Regions from separate parts of the Homo sapiens genome. Here region 2 is linked to region 1. The links are contacts of gene promoters, found by promoter capture Hi-C in human tissues and cell types (Jung and others, 2019). All regions are on one chromosome and are shown on one strand. Each heading gives the region's core, a stretch centred on a gene start or on the middle of the fragment in contact. The rest is flanking DNA. Distances are from core to core; before and after follow the strand shown. Region 1 holds the start of GAB4 (GRB2 associated binding protein family member 4). Region 2 overlaps CECR7 (cat eye syndrome chromosome region, candidate 7).

Region 1 (5,700 bases), core at 2,021-4,520:
GCCCTCTCTCACCACTCCTATTCAACATAGTATTGGAAGTTCTGGCCAGGACAATCAGGCAAGAGAAAGAAATAAACGGTATTCAAACAGGAAGAGAGGAAGTTAAATTGTCTCTGTTTGCAGATGACATGATTGTATATTTAGAAAACCCCATCATCTCAGCCCAAAAACTCCTGAAGCTGGTAAGCAACTTCAGTAAAGTCTCAGGATACAAAATCCATGTGCAAAAATCACAAGCATTCCTATACACCAATAATAGACAAATAGAGAGCCAAATCATGAGTGAACTCCCATTCACAATTGCTACCAAAAGAATAAAATACCTAGGAATACAACCTACAAGAGATGTGAAGGACTTCTTCAAGAAGAACTACAAACCACTGCTCAAGGAAATAAGAGAGGACACAAACAAATGGAAGAACATTCCATGCTCATGGATAGGAAGAATCAATATTGTGAAAACGGCCATACTGCCCAAAGTAATTTACAGATTCATTGCTATTCCAATCAAGCTACCATTGACTTTCTTCACAGAATTAGAAAAATCCACTTTAAATTTCACATGTAACCAAAAAAGAGCCCGTATAGCCAAGACAATCCTAAGCAAAAATAACAAAGCTGGAAGCATCACACTACCTGACTTCAAACTGTACTACAAGGTTACAGTAACCAAAACATGTTACTGGTACCAAGACAGATATATAGACCAATGGAGCAGAACAGAGGCCTCAGAAATAACACCACACATCTACAACCATCTGATCTTTGACAAACCTGACAAAAACTAGCAATGGGGAAAGGATTCCCTATTTAATAAATGGTGTTGGGAAAACTGGCTAGCCATGGGCAGAAAACTGAAAGTGGACCCCTTCCTTATATCTTATACAAAAATTAACTCAGTTCTGAAGGAGGTCGGGGTCAAGATGGATTAAAGACTTAAACGTAAGACCTAAAACCATAGAAACCTTAGAAGAAAACCTAGGCAATATCATCCAGGACATAGGCATGGGCAAAGACTTCATAACTAAAACATGAAAAGCAATGGTAACAAAAGCCAAAATTGACAAATGGGATCTATTTAAACTAAAGAGCTTCTGCATAGCAAAAGAAACTATCATCAGCGTGAACAGGCAACCTACCGAATGGCAGAAATTTTTTCCAATCTATCCATCTGACAAAGGGCTAATATCCAGAATGTATAAGGAATTTAAACAAATTTACAAGAAAAAAACAACAACACTATCAAGAAGTGGGCAAAGGATATGAACAGACACTTAACAGAAGAAGATATTTATGTGGCCAACAAACATGAAAAAATGCTCATCATCACTGGTCATTAGAGAAATGCAACGAGATACCATCTCACGCCAGTTAGAATGGCCATCATTAAAAAGTCAGGAAACAACAGATGCTGGAGAAGATGTGGAGAAATAGGAATGTTTTTACACTGTTGGTTGGAGTGTAAATTAGTTCAACTATTGTCAAAGACAGTGTGGCGACTCCTCAAGGATCAAGAACTAGAAATACCATTTGACCCAGCCATCCCATTACTGGGTATATACCCAAAGGATTACAAATCATTCTACTATAAAGACAAGTGCACCCGTATGTTTATTGCAGCACTATTCACGACAGCAAAGACTTGGAACCAACCCAAATGCCCATCAATAATAGACTGGATAAAGAAAATATGGCACATATACACTATGGAATATTATGCAGCCATAAAAAAGAATGAGTTCATGTTCTTTACAGGGACATGGATGAAGCTGGAAATCATCATTCTCAGCAAACTTACACTGGAACAGAAAACCAAACACCGCCATGTTCTCACTCATAAGTGGCAGCTGAACAATGAGAACATATGGGCACAGGGACGGGAGCATTACACAATGTGGCCTATTGGGGTTGGGGGGCAAGGGAAGGGATAGCATTACGAGAAATACCTAATGTAGATGATGGGTTGATGGGTGCAGCAAACCACCATGACACGTGTATATGTATGTAACAAACCTCCACGTTCTGCACATGTATCCCAGAACTTAAAGTATAATAAAAAATTGAAAAAAGAAATGGAGAAAGACAAGAACGCAGAATTGATCATACCCCATACCTCAGGGAAGCAGAGGAAAGGGAAGATGACTATAGGATCAGCTTATTCTGGAATAGATTCTTGAAGGGCTGGACCTGGGGCTAAGGAACAGGAGAGAAAAGCCTCTTCTATGTACCTTGGTATAATCATAGTGACTCCTAACAATTACCGCTTCCTCAGTAAAATTGTTGAAATTTAGAACAACACTCTTCAAATTAGCCACTAGGGGAAAGGGCAACCAATCTTCTTTTTTTCTAAATCGTTTAACCACATGAATTAATATATAGAAAACTACACTGCAGTGCACACTGTCCCTCAGCAGGCGTGGTGGCATGGAAGGACGCGAACGACCCCGGGAGTGGCGGGTGAGGAGGGAAGGGGAGCGAGCGGGTGCGAGGTGCCCGCGTTTTCCTGGGGCCCGGGAGGGAAAGGGAGAGGGTGTGAGGTGCCTGCCTTCTCGGGGCTTGGGAGGGAAGGTGAGCAGGTTTAAGGCGCCTGCCTTCCTTGGGGCCTGGGAGGGAAGGAGAGAGGGTGCGAGGTGCCCGCCATTCTCAGGGCCTGGGAGGGAAGGGGAGCGGGTGCGAGGTTCCTGCCGTTTTGCGAGGCTGCGGAGCCTGCTGTGTCCCCTTTCCCGCCCACTCTCCGACCTGCAGGCCCACGGCGCTCAAGGTAATAGGGTCCCCAGCCCTGGAATCAACTCCCTGGGTCTCGGAACGCAACCCACACAAACCTGGACCCTGTCTCTCACTGGCGGGGAGTCGCCTTCGCATGCAGACGTGGAGAAGTCGCCTCCACCCGCAGCTCCTCCCGTGGACCCAGGCCGCCTCCCCCACGCCCCTCCCGGAGTCCCCAGACCCTCCGTGGCGCTCCTGGTACCGCCCCCACTGCCCCACTCACAAAGAGCCTCAGCTTCTTCTCGGGGGGCGACTTCCTCAGCCAGCCGCTGTACAGCACGTGGCCACTTCTCGTGCTTCCGCCGGCGGGGCCACTTCCGGGCCACGAAGACAAAGGCGCAAATGCCGGGTCAGGTGGGCACAGCTCCCGGGAGGGTGAGGGGGACGGCAGGGACATGGGGGCTGCAGCTCACAGTGAAGGTGGGGGAGACAGGGCGAGAGGGCGTTGCTGGAGGTGGGGTGTGAGGGACGGCTTGCGATACCCTGGGACTGCGGGGTAGAAAGCGCAGTTCTAGGGGAGGTCGGGGTCAGAGGTGAAGCTCGTGGGGAGGGCGAGACCCGGGCGCAGGTGCTCACAGGCGAGGGCGGGGTTCAGGTTCCAGCTGGGCTTTGAGTTCCGGTTCAGGCTTCCATCTGTGGTTCCGGTTCCAATTTGAGGTGGAGTTTGGGATTAAAGTTTAGACGAGGCCTCTCGTTCAGGGTTTGCGTTGGGGATTGGGGTGGGGATTTGCACCCTGGGTCAGCCTGGGTGCATCTCATCGGGACCACCGGGGCGGGGGACATGGGCCGGGTGGCTCCTTGGGAGAAGAGGGACAGGGAGCGCAGCTGGTGGAGAGGACAAGAACGAGGGGCGCAGCTCATTCAGAGGGCCACAACAGAGTCTCAGGTGCTGAGTCCCATGCGCCAGATGAGGAAAGACAATGGAAGAGTTCAGGTTCCTGCTGGGGTTTGAGTTCCAGTTCGGGATTCGGCCCATGGTTTACCTTCTGACTTGAGTTGGGGTTTGGGGTCAAGGTTCAGGCTAGGACTTGAGTTCCGGGTTGCAGTTTGGGGGTGGGGTTAGGTTTCAGAGTGAGGGTTTGGGCCTGTTTGTGTTGTGTATGTTTGTGAATGTATTGGGATGTCACCGTGTGTACTTATGTCACGTGTGTGCACGCATCAGTGTGTGCATGTGTGAGTGTTCATTGAGTGTGGCACTGACAGCCAACCCCTCTCCTCCCATTTATGCCCCACTGTCTTATCCTGGTTGGGGTGGGCTTTACAAGTTCCTTCCCTGGGCCAGTTGGAGGTTCTCATGTTGCCTGGGGAGAGAAGGGAAGGAGAGAACAGGTCAAAGATGAGGGCAGCTTGGCCTCAACCAGACCCGGTGTCACGGGGACCAAGAAGCCGGAGGTCCTTGTCTCCTGCCTCTGGAGGAGCTTGGTTTGCTTCTTTGTTCACACATTGTGTGAAAGCACAGTTGGGGGCATCTGATATGCACAGGATCTGTTCTTGCCTCTGCAGATGTCTTAGAGAACAGGACAGACAAGGGGCCTCTTCAGTAAGCCATCCCCAATGTGCACTGCATGTCAGCTTACAAGAGGGGCACAGGGGCCCCATCAGGTAGCAGGGAGGATGCAAGGAAGAGTGTGTGGGGATGGGGGTGCTGGGTGGGGCCAGGTGAGTGGGTGCCTGGCTTCTCCTCAGAGCAAAGGAAAGTGCTGAAGAGTGTGAAACTGTGTGACATGTTATGCTTTATGTTTTGAGAATGGATTGCAGGAACAAGCAGACATGGGGGACCTGATGAGGGCCAATGGGATGTCCATAGAGATAAGATTTGGCTTGAGCTGGTGGGAAAAGTGGAGATGGAGCCACATGGAGGAAATTGCAGAGTCTTGAGACTGAGGAGACATGTGGGTGGATGAGATATGAGTAGTGACCCGACCCTGAGGTGGGGAATGGGGGGACAGCCCCGAGGGGAGGTTGGTGAGGTGTATTTGGACCTATTGGGTTGGAGCCCTAGGCAGCATCCTCATGGGAGGACCACTGGGTCCTGGTCAGGCAGACATGGTGCTCAGGGAGACACTGGATGAGGTGGGAGCCATAGACCCTCTGCTGATGGCAAGAATGGGGTTCCTGGAGGTGCTGGCTCCCTCTGCAGGCTGCAGTCATGGCGAGTCAATTCTAAACTCACCATCACAGCTCACACTGTAAAGGACACATACCTTAGTATAAATCAGTTAGCCAACGAGGCCACAGGGTACCCAGTTGGATCCTGCCCTGAGATGAGAGTAGGTTTGGATGGGGTGAGACGGGAGAGAGGCAGTGGCAGGAATGAGGCAGATAAGGTCTTCCTGGATGGAAGGGAGCTCAGCCCCTGCAGTGACCTCGTACCGACTGGGGCCTCAGCAGGAGCCCCGACCTGGGTCCCCGTGGGCCTCTGACTGTCTTCTCCTGGCCTCAGGGTGGAAAGAACCCTCTTCCAGAATATGTCCTCTCCAGCAACATTCTTCCAGCCCCCTACAGTGCGCACAATGGGAACTTCAGGAGAGTGCAGAGACTGCCACAGGGCATGGAAGGCAGGTGTTGCCCCAAGGTCTAGCCTGCCCAGGATGTTGGCTTTGATGACGGTTGGGGGCCACTGTGGGCGACTTATGAGTGTTCTGAGCCTTTTTGTGTGTGTATACAGTGAATTTAAATTTATCCTCTGTGTCTCAAGTGGACAAAAAAAAACCACTTTATTTTCCATTGATGATTTATTTTTCTTGTGTCTTCCATTCCATGGTTGATGGAAAATATATATAAGTTTCTCATAACTTATCTCTGTTTCCTCTGCTTTGCAGCTATCCGTGCCCACCATGGGTCTCACCTCCTCCTTCTGTGAGTGTCTGTCCGGTGGCTGTCGGGGAGGGTCTCCAGCACTTGTGCTGCCCCTGGGACCCTCACTGACCCTGG
Region 2 (5,645 bases), core at 2,408-4,907, 42 kb after region 1:
TCCAAAGCAGGAGATTTGAGGACTTGGTTCACCCCAGCCCTGGCATCTACCCCAGAACCCTTCATCCTCCAGGTACGGCATTGGGCTACAGAGGTGCAGCGTGCTTTGGTGGACCACCCAGTGGTGGCAGAGTCAGCCACGGTGAGCAGCCCAGACCCGATTCAAGGGGAAGTGAGGAGGGCACAGAGATCATTGTGTCTGTACATGGGCACTAGGAAAGCAAACGCCCGGGAAACTTCCAGGCCTTACCTGGGCAACCTTGGGGGAAGGAGGGCATAGTGTGCCTGTGCACTTACACAGTATAGTGACTTGGGGGCACTGCGGCCTCTCTGTGGCTCTGAAGATAAAGATGACAGATTATATTTAGTGAGCACTTAATACATGCCAAATAATTTAACTCTCACAAAATGGAATAATCTAAGAGCTCTTCTACTCTTTGTAGATGAGGAAAGAGGAGCAGAAGGAAGTTAAGTAATCTGTCCACATCACACAGCTACTAAGGGGTGGAGCCAGAATGGCATTTCAGCAACGTGGCTGAAGAACATACGTGCATTTGTTTATTAAAAAGTGTTTATTGAGCACCTTCTATATGCAAGGCCTTGTACAATAAAATGGGGATAACACTACTAATATATGAATAATAAATTGTCAATAATTATCAAATACCCATTGGGTTACAGGCACAGGGTGGTATATATAATAATAGTAAAAATAATGATGAAAGTACTGATGACAGGGATAATAATGTAAACTACCTGGATGTTTTATATGTATTATCTCATGGAAGCTTTAAAGAAACCAAATGAGGAATGGAATCTTTATTATTCCCATTTCACAGAGAAGGAAACTGAGGTTAAGGAGAGGTCAAGTAACTTTTCAAGGCATGGAGTGGACATTGGAAGTACAGGCATTTGCACCTGGTCCTCTTATTTTCCAAAACTACTGTAGGGTCCAACGTCACCTTGTTTTTCCACTCATTCAATAAATACTGACTTTTTATGCTATGTAATAGGTTGACACTCATCATGAGCCTCTGCCCTCGTTCTGCAGGTGGTGAAGGCATTGATTGTCCTGACCCCACAGTTTCTGTCCCATGACAAGGACCAGCTGACTAAGGAGCTGCAGCAGCATGTAAAGTCAGTGACAGCCCCATGTAAGTACCCGAGGAAGCTAAGTGAGGGCAGATGGAAGGGGTCAGTTCCCAGTACTCCTGCCCCATGTCTCCTAGGGTGGCTGTGCAGGGGGAAGCTTGGAGACTCACAGTAGTGGCTTTTTTTTCTGCATAAGAAGCAATTTGGCTTAGGGATGGGGTGTTCTCTTAAAAATGTATTTAAACTGACAAATTAGAAAATGATCTATTAAAAGCAAGGAGACATAGATAAATCCTAATTCAGGTGATTACAACAAATATTTCTTAAGCACTTTCTATATGCTGGCAATTTATAAGAGTGTTTAAGATAAATCTAGTATAAATGCTGAACTCAGGAGAGTAAGAAAATGACAAATACTTATAGGACAGCCCATGCGATATTACAAGCACATGCAATGTTGTGAAATAACACAGAGGAGGGCATAATTAACTCTGCAAGAGTTAGGAGGAGGTTCAAAGAGGAGGGCCTAGTGAGTAGGCATTTTCAAGATGTAAAGGAATAGAGGGGATGATGTGGAAAGAGGAAGAACCTCTCAAAACAAGACAGGGCTGGGCTTGGTGCCTCACACCTGTAATCCCAGCACTTTGAGAGGCTGAGGCAGGATGATCAGTTGAGCCCAGGAATTTGAGACCAGCCTGAGCAACACAGCAAGAACCCTGTTTCTATTTAAATAAGTTTAATATATTAAAAAAAGACAACAGAGTAAACAAGAAGCACTGAGGCATGAGACAACATGACATGCAAAAGACAGTAAAGTTGAACTAGTAACATAATTTCTAATGTCTCCAAATGACGAAAGTAGCATACAGCTCTTAAAACTGACATGAGAAAGTGCATTTAGTGACTTCAGTCTTTGGTGGAAGTTCCTAGTGTATGAAATGGAACAGATGAGAAAAGGCCTTGGTTCCCATGCTGTGGGAATAGGGAACTGGTGAAGGGCTAAGTATCAGAGGACGTGTAATTCAGATAAATCACTCCGTTGGTTACCTGGAGGGTGAATTTGAGGAGAATGAGACTGGAGGCAGGAGCAAGGCAGTACCAGTGCAGGTGAAGAAAGAACATAGGTAGAACTTGGCCACCAATTAGAAAAGGTGAGAGGAGGAGCCAAGGAGAGGGAAACATGTGGGATCACGGCCAGGTTTCAGGCTGGAACAGGACAAATGGCAGAAGCATCCAATATTGAAAATAGAGTCAGAGGAGCCTTCTTGAGTGGAGAGGGATAACAGGGCATTCTAGGACAGGATGGGTTTGAGATTTCTTGACATATCTGAGTGGAAAAGTCTTGGAAGCATGAGGCCACACCAGAGCTCAGTGAGGGCAAGAAGATAGGGAGTGTGGAGTCATCAGCTTGCAGGTGACAGCTGAAGCCATTCTCCCACTTCAGGAGAGAAGCACATGAGCAAAGAGCTGAGATTCCTGGAGAACACCAACATTCCCAAGTGAGCTGAAAGAGAGAATTCGGAGGAGGGCCAGAGGGAAAATTAAATGGAAGAGTGTGCTGTAGAGATAGCACTGTGATCCAGGGCTTGATCTTTGAAGGCAGACTGCCTGAATGACAGTTTCCTTTTCTGTAAATGAGAGTGAAATTATCTACCCATGCATGGAAAAAAACCCTCAACAAACTAGAAACAGGAGGGAACTTCATCAGCATGATGAAAAGCATCTGTGAAAACCTAACAGTTAACAGATTTAATGGTGCAAGACTGAATGCTTTCCCCTAAGATTGGGAACAAGACAAGGATGGCCATGTTCAGCAGGTCTATGCAGCCTTGGTTCTGACCAGGATGATTAGGCGATTGATATATAAAAGGATCCAGATTAGAAAGGAAAAAGTAAAACTGTCTTACTCCCAAATGTCATGATCTTGTATACAGAAAATCCTAAGGTATCCAGTTTAAAAAAAAAACAAAACTAGAACTAGTTCAGCAAGTTCACAAAATCAGCATACAAAAATCAATTGTATTTCTGTACACTAGCAATGAGAAATCCAAAAATGAAATTCAGAAAATTATTCCATTCACAATAGCATCCCAAAGAATAAAGTACTCACTGTGGAAAGAAACTAAAAAAGAACTAAATAAATGAAAGATATTCCATGTTCATGGATCAGAAGACTAAATATTATTGTCAGTACTCATCAAATTAGTCTACAGGATCAACCTGATTCCTATCAAAATCCCAGCTACCTTTTCTGCAGAAATTGACAAGGTGATCCTAAAATTCATATGGATATGCAAAGGACACAGAATAAGCAAAATAATCCTGAAAAAGAAGAACAAGATTGGAGGACTTATCTTCCTAATTTCAAAACTTGCTACAAAGTAATCAAGAGGGTATGGTACTGTCTTAAGGACAGATGTATAGGTCACTGGAATATAGTTGAAAGCTCAGGCTGGGCACTCATGCCTGTAATTGCAGCACTTTGGGAGGCTGAGGTTGGGGGATCCTTTGAGGTCAGGAATTCAAGACCAGCTTGGGCAACATAGACAGTGAGACCTGTCTAAAAAAATAAAAATTAAAGACAAATTTGATTAGCCAGGCATGGTGGTATAGGCCTGCTGTCCCATCTAGTCAGGAAGCTGAGGTGGGAGGATCTCTTGAGCCTAGGAATCTGAGAATGCAGTGAGCTATGATTGGCTACTACACTCCAACCTGGGGAAGAGAGAGAAAACGTATCTGTAAAAGAAAATAAAGCCAAGTGTGGTGTCTTATGCCTGTAATCCCAAAACTTTAAAGGGCCAAGGAGAGAGGATCCCTTGAAACCAGGAGTTTGACACCAGCCTGGGCAACATAACAAGACTCTGTAACTATGAAAATTAAATTAAATTAAATTTAAAACTATGGCTGGGTGTGGTGTAATCCCAGTACTTTGGGAGGCTGAAGTGGGTGGATCACCTGAGGTCAGGAGTTCGAGACCAGCCTGGCCAACATGGCAAAACCCTGTCTCTACTAAAAATACAAAATTAGCCAGGCGTGGTGGTGTGTGCCTGTAACACCAGCTACTCCAGAGGCTGAGGCAGGAGAATCACTTAGAACCTGGGAGGCAGAGGTTGCAGTGAGCTGAGATCACACCACTGCACTCCAGCCTGGGTGATGGAGGGAGACTCTGTCTCAAAAAGAAAAAAAAAAAATTAGCCAGGTATGGTGGCACACACTTGTCGTCCCAGCTACTTAAGAGACTGAGGCAGGAGGATGAATTGAGCTCAGGAGTTTGAGGCTGCAGTGAGCTATGATCACACCACTGCACTCCAGACTGGGCAACACAATAAGACCCTGTCTCGAAAAAAAATGAATTGATTAACTGAAAAATAATTGAAATCCCGGAAAGAAACCATTACATTTAAAGTCAATTGATTTGACAAAGGGGTCAAGAAACTTCATTTGGAAAGGAATAGTCTTTTCTTTTTTTGTTGTTTTTCATTTTGTAGAGACACATGTCTCACCATGTTGCCCAAGCTTATCTTAAACTCCTGGAGTCAAGCAATACTCCTGCCTTGGTCTCCCAAAGTGCTGGGATTACAGGTATGATCCACTATGTCCAACCATGAATAGTCTTTTCAACAAATGGTGGTGGGGCAATTGGATATTCATGTGCAAATAAATTAATTTGGGTCTCTGCCTAACACCATACACAAAAATTAACTGAAAATGGATCACAGACCTAAATGTAAAAACTAAAACTATAAAACTCTTAGAAAAAAACACAGGAGTAAATCCTTGTGATCTTGTGTAAGGCACTGATGTCTTAGATGCAATGTCAAAAGCACAGTTCAAGACCAGCTGGGGCTAAATAATGAGACCTGGAAAAGGAGGAAAGGGAAAAAGTGAGAAAATGAAAAATGGCAAATTGAACATCAGCCAAATTTAAAACTTTGGCACATCAAAAGATACAATCAAAAAAGGGAAAGACAGCCCACAGAATGAGAGAAAATATTTATAAATCATATGTCTAATAAGTGATATATCCAGAAGAACTCTTACAACTCAATATTAAAAGACAATCCAGCTTAAAAATGGGAAAAGAACATGAATAGACATTTCTCCAAAGATGATATATTAATGTCCAATAAGCACATTAAAAAGTGTTTAACATCAGTCACTAGGAAAATGCAAATCAATCCACAATGGGATGTCGCTTTACACCCACTAGAATGAATACAACCAATCAAGACAGATAACGCCAAGTGCTGGAGAGGAGGTGGAGAAATCGAAACCCTCATACACTGCCAGTGGGAATATAAAATGGTGCAGCCACTTTTTTGGAAGATAGTATGTCAGTTTCTTAAAATGTTAAAAATAAAACTGCTTTAAACCCAGCAACTTTACTTCTAGGTATCTACCCAGGGAAAATAAAAATGTATGTCGACACAAAGACTTGTATGTGAATATTCACAACACCATTCACAAGAATCGAAAGGTGGAGACAACTCAAATGCCCATCTACTGACAAAGGGATTAAAATGTGGGATATACAAAGGAATACTACTCAACAAT

The links. The method cuts DNA at HindIII sites, captures the fragments that hold promoters and counts their contacts. A contact is called where the count stands out against the background at its distance.
Region 2: a fragment that was not itself captured here is called in contact with the fragment with the promoter of GAB4 in region 1 in 2 of the 25 tissues and cell types used here (mesendoderm cells and stomach).

Annotation. Positions count from the first base shown.
Region 1 is chr22:17,004,952-17,010,651 of GRCh38, forward strand. It overlaps GAB4 (GRB2 associated binding protein family member 4), which reads right to left and starts at 3,271. Exons shown (of 10, transcript NM_001037814.1): 1 at 2,990-3,271. The coding sequence starts at 3,163. The HindIII fragment of the contact is 10,541 bases long and covers 1-5,700 here.
Region 2 is chr22:17,046,274-17,051,918 of GRCh38, forward strand. CECR7 (cat eye syndrome chromosome region, candidate 7) reads left to right here. Exons shown (of 4, transcript NR_152826.1): 3 at 1,051-1,153. Among named protein-coding and RNA genes, the nearest start is that of CECR7, 13 kb to the left of the region's middle. The HindIII fragment of the contact is 5,281 bases long and covers 1,018-5,645 here.